Regions from separate parts of the Homo sapiens genome. Here regions 2 and 3 are each linked to region 1. The links are contacts of gene promoters, found by promoter capture Hi-C in blood cells and fetal thymus (Javierre and others, 2016). All regions are on one chromosome and are shown on one strand. Each heading gives the region's core, a stretch centred on a gene start or on the middle of the fragment in contact. The rest is flanking DNA. Distances are from core to core; before and after follow the strand shown.

The links. Contacts are between HindIII fragments. The CHiCAGO score rates a contact against its expected background, and 5 or more counts as called.
Region 2: a fragment that was not itself captured here is called in contact with the fragment with the promoter of BBX in region 1 in 1 of 17 cell types (total B cells); the score reaches 5.6 in total B cells.
Region 3: a contact is called between a fragment that was not itself captured here and the fragment with the promoter of BBX in region 1, in 1 of 17 cell types (non-activated CD4 T cells). The highest score is 6.4, in non-activated CD4 T cells.

Annotation. Positions count from the first base shown.
Region 1 is chr3:107,521,695-107,524,934 of GRCh38, reverse strand. It overlaps BBX (BBX high mobility group box domain containing), which reads right to left and starts at 1,973. Exons shown (of 18, transcript NM_001142568.3): 1 at 1,828-1,973. RefSeq lists silencers at 1,297-1,366, 1,477-1,566, 1,597-1,906 and an enhancer at 2,307-2,356. The HindIII fragment of the contact is 5,936 bases long and covers 1-3,046 here.
Region 2 is chr3:111,667,309-111,670,219 of GRCh38, reverse strand. No RefSeq gene overlaps it. Among named protein-coding and RNA genes, the nearest start is that of PLCXD2, 5.9 kb to the left of the region's middle. RefSeq lists an enhancer at 2,236-2,285. The HindIII fragment of the contact is 1,694 bases long and covers 638-2,331 here.
Region 3 is chr3:111,982,414-111,985,266 of GRCh38, reverse strand. The region is part of intron 2 of ABHD10 (abhydrolase domain containing 10, depalmitoylase); the gene reads right to left. Among named protein-coding and RNA genes, the nearest start is that of ABHD10, 4.8 kb to the right of the region's middle. The HindIII fragment of the contact is 3,051 bases long and covers 1-2,815 here.

The sequences.
Region 1 (3,240 bases), core at 724-3,223:
GAACTGGACGTGTCATTAGCAGGACAGGCAATGGTTTCAAAGCCCCAGGCCAATGACCATTAGCAGAGGCAGAGCTCGCTCCGTCCCCATCCCCCACAACCTCCACCCACCTTCCCCTTCGCCCCCCCCCCCACCTCCACCCCACCTCGCGAAACTTTTCAACAAGATCCACCTGGACTAATTTGTCCACAGACAGTTAAAATATTGACTAGACCCTACACACTGGGAAGGAAGGGGAATGCACGCTTTATTTTCCTTCCTACAGAAAGGAAAGCAAAAAATAGCTTCTCTCTCTGTCTCTCCCTCTCCCCCCCCCCCCCTCTGTCGTACATGTTGTGTCTTAGCTTTTTGCATCGTTTCGTTTTACCTTCCTCATTTAGCAGAAATGATCGCGGCTATTTCACACATAAACGTGTTCCAGATTCTGGGATTCAGGGTCCTTGTAAATTACAGGACTCGGGTTCGGTCTCAGTTATGTTAAGTTTCATACAATACCAAAAAATAAATAAAATATGATAATAAATTTCAGAGGGTGAGTGAGCGAGACGAGGTGGAGGAGGAAAAGAAACCTCGAGTCTGATTTCTGTAATTTACTAGCGACCCGGATCGCAGCAAATAACAGTGTAACACGAGTGTGGCTTAAGAGGGCTAGGGAGCTCTTTCTAGAGGCATCGACCCCATCCCCGGATAAAGGATCTGCAAGTTTTCTGTCATCGCGACCAGGCAAAGCCGTAACTTACCTTCAGAAATAAGACTTTAAACGGCCAAGGCCTTCCTCCTCCCCTCCACCACCACCCTCAGCCTCGCTCTCTCCACCTTAAACTTATTGACACAACATAATCCCACATTCAAGCAAAATCCTGACACAGCCTCCCTCCTCCTCTTCCCCCTCCTCTCTTCCCTCCCGTTCTCTCTCTCCCTCTCTCTCTGTCTCCCTCTCTCCCCCCCCTTCCCTCCCTCTTCTCTCTCCCCTTCTCCCTCGCCCTCTTCCCCCTCTCCCCCTATTCTTCCTCCAGGCTACTCTGGCACTAAAACAGCACTTTCTCTACTCGCCGCGCATTTGGGTAGGGGTGGGGGGTGAGAGGGCACTGATCTGCGGGGCCGGAACACCCAAATCCCAACTCTCCAGATGAACGAGCAACTGGGCTGCTGTTCCCGGTCACCAACGCAGACGAAACGTTCAATAAATCCACCGAAGGCTGGCTCCTCGTACCTTCCTCCACTGCCCCTGCTCCCCAGGCCCCACCTCCCCGGCAGCCGAGACCAGGCAGGGCTCCACGTACTTTCGCCGAGATGAAGTTTGGGGCTCCCCGGGCGGCCACGAGCCGCCCGCCGGCGTGAGGGCTCTGTTGTTGTTTTCCTGGGGCCGCTCCAGCCCGCGCCCCGGCGCCCGTGCCCCTCTCAGGCGGCGCTGCCTGTGTGCCGAGAGGTGCTGGTTGCAAACGCAGCCTGGCACCGGCTGGCCTACTACTCCCCAGCCCGGCCCCCAGCCTCCCGCTCGCAGGGCACTGCCTCAGCGCCCCCCGCCCCCCGGCCCCAGCCGGCGCGGCCGCCGCGACCCTCGCCCCCGACCTCTCCCGACCCAAAGTTTTGGCGGAGGGGGAAAGTGCCCAGGGAGCGGGCCGGCTGGCGGCGGCTCCGGACGCGCGGGGTTCCCTCCGTCTTCCTCAAGTCCACCCTACCGGCTGCCGCCGCCGCCGCCGCCGCCGCCGCCGCTGCTCCTGCCGCGGAGTCCTTGGGGCTGCAGCCCGGCGGCTCGCAAGTGAGTAGGAAAACAGAAAGTGAGGGGAGTGCGCCCAGGGAGGGCTGGGGATGGGGGGCGCCTACCTCGCGGGCTCGCCGGGCGTGAGGGCGTGTGTGTAGCTAGCCCTCAGCGGCCAGTCAGGGTTTCTCTATGGGAAAGTGGAGAGAAGCTCGCGGAGCCGCTCTGCCTCCGCTTCACTGTACACTGCTCCACATACAGTACATGCAACCCGGAGAGACTGAAAACACTCATTTTATATAAGGCAGCCTGCCATTGGCCCGCGCAGTGACGGACAGGCCGCGCAGCCAAACAAGAGGCCCGTTACACCCAAACACACGCACACATACACACATTTTACAGAGACACACAAAGATCATCACATTTTCTATTTTCTAATGTTCGGGACCTGTAGACAGTAGGAGAGGACAGGTAAAGAGGCCCAGCAGAGTGGGGTAAAGGGGAAAACCCCTGTCTGCACCAAGTTGCAAGGCTTGAAACTGGTGTCCTTTTGACTTGGGAGGGTTATGGTAATAAACTACAACTCCACTGGATATGGAAGTGAGGGGGGTTTTTCATCGCTGCCTTTTGGTGCCCCATGGAAGAGGCCTGCATTGTGTTACGATTTTACAGCCTGACCCGGCTAACAAGTGGCCAAGAAAGGCTTTTATCACCTTGGATTTCTTTTGTCAATGGGTTAGCTATCACATAGGCCAAAATAGTGCAAGATAAGTTTATCAGGACTCTAATGCATTGAGGTTGTTAGTGCCTCATTCGTAGGTAGATTCAAAAAAATCAATATAACAACACACAAAGATAAACATTTTGCTGAAATAGCCAAACAACTTTTAACTGGTCAGTGGACTGCCATCACCTGTGTGGACATGCAAACTGTGCTGTTAGGTAAAATAAGTCATGGAAGATTGGCTATTGACCCTTAGCCTTCAAAACAGACCTTTGATTCAATATATACATGATTTATATTTTGCATATTATATATAAAAATATATGACTCTTTACATATTTCACATCTCATGTGAACATCATATGTTGCATGACTTTTGGAGATGATGAACCTCAGGACTGGTCTTTCTGATTGTTTTTCAACAATGCAACTTCAGAAGATTATATGAGACAGTTCAATACACATAAGTCAACAGGTTGGTGGAAAGAAGTCAAAGCTGGAAATTAGAAGGAATAAATTGTAGATTAAACTCTTTAACCAGCTGAGCAATCTTGAGCAAGTTACTTAACCTCTCCAATGCTCAGACTTGGTTTTGATTTTTAAGATTAAAATAAGAAGCTTTTCCAGATTCCCTCAATTAAATGTTTATTCAGCATCTACTATGTGTCAGGCATTATCTTAGGCCTAGATGTTTTCTTAGGGTTCCTTCCGTTTTAAGAGTTGGTGAATTATTCTCAAATACAAACATTTTGGAGATTACATAAACACTACGATTTTATGGCCTAGGTAAGTAGCTTTAAAACTTAAAGAAAAC
Region 2 (2,911 bases), core at 235-2,734, 4.1 Mb before region 1:
GGAAGGAACAGATCCCAAGCAGAATCAGAACACAGACATGTATTTGGTCGAGGGATATTGCCTAGAGGAGAGTGAGGTTATATGATGCTTTGAGTTCCACAGTGATGCGTCACACACAATTTTTTTTTCTGGCTGGGGAGTGGGGTGGGTGGAAAAGGAATAAGGGACTGAAATGAGGAGCCAAGTAAACGAAAGATGGGATGGAGTAGAAGCTGCTTTGCTTTATGGCCTCGTACCAGTAGAGTTTATTCCTAGTCTTTCCCAAGCTTCTTCACCCAGCTCAAGCCAAAAGACTGTATGATAAAGATCAGAGGAGAATGAGGAGATGCAACCAACATAGGTGGTGCTGGGACGTGACGACAGCAGCAGCAATTACCTCCAGGAAGAGTGACATCATTGCAGCAACTGGGGATCTTCAGGAGCCTCCAAGGAAATGGAGACACTGAGGCACACACTTGTGGACACATGATACAACTTACACATTCCTGACATCAGAAGACAGAGGATTGGGATCCACTTATTTTGTTGATTGGGGTAGAGCCGGAGACTATTGTTTTGTCATTTTTACTGTGACCATTCCCGGATTATACCCAGGTGGTGTGTCCTTGAGAAACTGGGTAGAAGAGAAGCAGAAGCTTAAGCAGGAAGTAGCGTTGTCTATATTACCTCATGCCCACTTGGTATTTATGGCCCACAACTGGGATTCTGTAATGAGACAAGAGTGAACGGCAGCAATGGCTGGCCATAAGATTGTTTCTCCCAGATTTGAAAGCTCGGTGTTCAGGAAGACCCTAAGAGCCTCTGTGCCTTTTAAGTTTATTGGACATTAAGTTTTTCTGGTATGCTTTCAGAAAATTTATTTTAACAGTAGTCGTTACTATAATACTTTTGAGAGGGCTACTAACAAGTGATGATTGTAAAATTCATTTTAATATCCATTCATTTCCGTCTACCACACCACATTCCAGCATCCTCTTCCATTTCTCCTTCCCACGCCACCTCCAATCCCTGAAAAGGAAATTGAGAGGAAATAAAGGCCTCAGAGCCTTTATTTTCTAGCTAGTTAGCTAGTTAGCTGCAAAGTCCCTGATTTAAGATGTTATAGAGCCACCTACTGGTATTCAAGGCTCACTTCAGGCACGTATAATATGTTCTGTCAGTGTCAATTATTCCTAAAAATGCCTGTAGATCACCAGCAACAGGAACAACTAGGAGTTTATGCAATATACAGATTTCTGGATCAAATGCCAACCCTCCTGCATCAGATCCTCTGGGATGGCATCTTTTCCTCCTGTCTTTAAAATGTTCTCCTCAGGGGATTTTTATGTCTCAAATGTTTGAGATGAAGGCTTTGAAATGTCAACAAATTTCTCTTTTTTAAAAAAGTTAAAATAGGTAGAATGGCAGAGTAAACAATTCTTATCCATGCTGCATATAACTTTATGCAATTAGGAAGACTATTTTGGCAGAGATAGTTGATCTCAACTAGCAGGAAAATCAATTGATCTGCCACCCTTACCTTTTTTTTCTCCAGGCTACCACCCCACCCCAAGGTTCCTAGAATTATGAGAATTATGTCTATTATTAGGAGACATTGTTGTATTAATGTGTATATTAGTAATCACTTGAGCTTCAGTCACAACAGAATGACCTCTGTGCATTTGTTATCATTTAACCAATCTAATCTTGGGAATGCATTCTTTTAACAACATGACTCTGCAATTTGGTGTGCCACTATCAATTGGAAATAGCATGATGCCACCTCATCCATGGAGTAAAAATTAGTAATATTATCATTACCTAATACTATCATTCTCTTCCAACTTTTTAAATATTAAAATTACAAGTTTGTACAAACAACCTTAACCAACAAAAATATTTTTTAATAAAGTAAATAAATTTCAATGTAAATAAAAGTAATGAATTTTTAGTGTGTCAACAACTCTCTCTGATCAACTCTCTCTGAATGTTAGGTTGTAGTCAAAAGCCCTTACAAATGCTTCTTGGCCTTTTGATGATTTTGTTTCAAAGGATTCTGATTTGCTTAAGTGTCTGTAGTTAACTCCCCAACTCAGCCACGTGTTCGGCTCTGCCCTTCCTAAACTGCAGAAACTGGTCATGGAGGAAGTTGTAGTTTATCTTAGCAACATCTGCACCCACAGCTTCCTCTTCCTTTGAGTAGCAGAAGTAAAAGAGAAAGTAAAATTTATGCCACACATCTTTCTGTTTCAGCCAAGTATAAAGGAGAATATTCTAGAAGTCAGAGTTAAGCAATATAATGAAGTAGAGGAGGAAGTGAGTTCCTATAACTGGAAGCATCCAAGCCAAGCTTGGCACCAATAAGACAGTAACATGATAGAATTGAAGCACCTGATGCTTGATTGAACTACATGAACTTCACGGTCTTTCCAACCGTACTCTGTTTTTTTCCCTCTGCCTGCTGTAGATACCTTTTGTCTTTGCACAGTTAAGCCTTTCTTTCCTTTTTATTGCCTTTCCTCACTCAAATCTTTGACTTCATTTGCTGTAGTCAGGACTAACAGAACTTCTATATAAATATGGACCTAATATTCTAAAATCATGCGGCTACCAGCAAAAGCTTGAGATTGTGTTTTGGGGAGTACCTTTATACTGGTAACACGTTCTAGCCTCTGGGGACACCTCAACATTTTCTCTACCCTCTCCCCGCATTCAGCACCCAGGATGAGATGCGCTTAGCTCAGGCAGTCAGGCTCAGAAAACACATAATGAAGCTCTCAGAGTGGGAAGTATGAATGACCTGGATGGAAGTCACCTTTAGTGCCTCCATCACCTCCACAGTGGTAGGATTGATGTGTGTGCGGCCCGAGGGCAAAGCTTCTCAACTCTTGCGCCAGATGTGCCCTAATCATGGAGCTGAGTAAATGCACAC
Region 3 (2,853 bases), core at 41-2,540, 4.5 Mb before region 1:
ATACCACACCCACAGGTTACCTAAACTCTAGTCATACTGAACTACTCCTAATTCCCAGTTACACCCTTTTATAACTTAGAGCCTTAGCATGCTGTTCTGCTGCCAAGAACAGCTTCCTCCCCAACCCAAATTCGTAGTCACCCTTTAAGTCATGTCACCTCCTCTGAGGAACTTCACTTGACATATATGCCCCATTTAGTACCAGTCACTTTCTTTTGTATGTACTCAACACTTTTCATATTGTATTGTAATCAAGTTTGTTTTTAAACATTCATCTCCCTCTGACTAGAATGTCAGTTCCTTAAGAGGAGGCTGTTTTATTCGTTTGTTTTTCCAGGCCACAGAATACTGCCTGCCCTATACCATCACCATTCTTTCTCATTTCTTCTTATGTTCATCCCTTTCTTGGTACTTTGGTAAGTCCAGTATCTTGGTGTAGGTGTTTATTTGTCATCTTAGACCTAGACTATCACAGTAGCCTTCTATCTTGTGTCTCTATGACTCTGTCTTTAAATAGAGTCACTATATACATGTCAGTTTTTTTCTTTAACATTTTAGCATTACCTTCAGTGCTCCCTGTGATATACAACATAAACACTTAGTGCTTTGGCCTGTTTTTTTGAACCATTATATTCTGGTCATTTCAGATTGATTTCACAATAAATTTTACAGTAAATTTTTTTTTACTACTAAATTTTACAGTAGTACTCACTTCATCAGGGAATACTACTGCTTTAGACAAATTGATGAACTTACTGTTCCTAAAATAGGTCTATGTTTTCTTATGTGTTTCACATCTCACACTGTTGATTCCTTTACCTGGAATACCTTCTTCCATCATCTTCTTTACTGATATATTTTCCCTTCTTTACTGATATCCTTTCCCAGAGCCTAGTTCAAATGAACCTTTTTGGTGGAATGGCTGGTACAGTAAGTAAGGGATTTATGAGAAATAGGGGAGAGAAGAAATTAAATTTTTCTTTAGGTTTGAAGTGAAACGATTTTGGATCCTTGGGAAATAGAACAGGGCAACTGGTGCAGTCTAAATCAGTTACTGTTTCCCCCTCAATCCAGGGTATGTAAGAGATGGGTAGAAGGGGTGGAAGAAAAAAGGGGGAAAGACACCAACTAATTTTCTCCTTTTCTCTCTTCATAGGTGGCAATTGGATATGGCTGAATGTGGCATCTTTTACAGTTAGCTGCCTTCCAAATATATGGTGAGGATGCAAAATACTTGTACAGCTCCTTCATGAAGGAAAATATAAATACTTGGTGATACTAACAGGGTACCATTAAAAAAATATAGTTAACTCTCACTGAACCCCAATCCAGAGACAAAGATAATCCAAACATATTCAGCACTTTAAAACTTTTAAACAGTAGCACATCTCCATCTTAGCAGCCTCAATAGTCTGGGATGTAGTCCCAAATAAAAATTCTATTACAAATAATTATGAGAGAATACCAGCCTTAAAACCATATGTTATATTCCTGAGATCTGAATCAGTCTTATTTTAGGCATGGTGATAGGACCTTAATAAAACATTTTCATATAGTCATATGTTTTATTTCTTGTGTAATAAACTATTTCATCATTGAAGATCTAAATTTTACAGCAAAAAATCCCAACAAAAGCAACCTGAAAAATTAGAGAATAGAAGATAAAATCTCTTATAATAAAGTGCAATCAATAGTTAACAATAATTAGACTGTGATGAACTTTGATAAGAGCAAATAAAATGGAACTTGTTCAAACTAAATATTTGTAGTTAAGCACTATTCTTTATGAAGGTATACTCACACAGGATCCAAAAATGCAGAAAAGCCACATTATGTCTTATAGGGAGACAGGAACTGGTTATAACTCTCATAGTCTCAAAGCTGAAATTTTAGAACTGGTAAAATGGTGATTTCTCGATTCAAATTTATTCAGTGGCAAAAAAGAAAAGTGATAACAATATTTTTGATATTATGATCTTCTGCTCAGGACAGTCCCCCTCCTTGGACAGCACTTCCCTCCCACCCAAATCTGAATTATTCTTCAACGTTCCTTTATCTATTTCAATCCCACTGTCTCTAACTTTATGCAATTAAGTATACTGTTCTTTTGACACAATCACATTCTGATGAGTATTTCTGCCAAATTTCTAACATGTATTTTATCTTGTGTTTCCCCACCCTGAATGAAAGGTCCTCATAGGCAAGTACAATGTTTTATAATTCTTTGTTATTATGCAGCACTCAGTATAGTGCTAGAGAATCTATTTCCAAAAAGTACTCCAATCTTCAGAATAAGTCAGAACAGATTTTAACATAGTTCTGAGTATGAAAATAAAATAATTCATTAGTTTGGTAAAAGAAATAAGATTAAATCTTATTTAATTTTATAATTGACATAATTGCTGCTAATATATTGAACAGGTAGTCTGAAAGTTTTATATACAGCTGTATTTTCTAGAATTATTGAATGAATGTTTGTGAGTCACTCTTCTAAAAATTTAGATGGATAGATTTTTAGGCTGTTAGTGCTAGAAAATAACTCAGAAGTTATCTCTAGTCCAACCTCCTTCTTTTGATGACAAACTTAGGTCCAATGTTTATTAACTTACTTGTCTTGTCATAGTTATTGCTCGAATTTATTCTAGAACTCATGTTTCTTGAATTCCAGGCTAATCTTCTTTTTACGAAATCATACCATCTCTTCTGGACAGTGGATACTAAACATATAACTGCTACAGGTAGACCTTATAATAACATAAAGTTATTTACTAAAATAACTCTCAGTGTGAAAAATTAGGAATTATAAAATCAAGCTTGAGTTAAGTACCACTTATCCCTATTTATGCTTATACA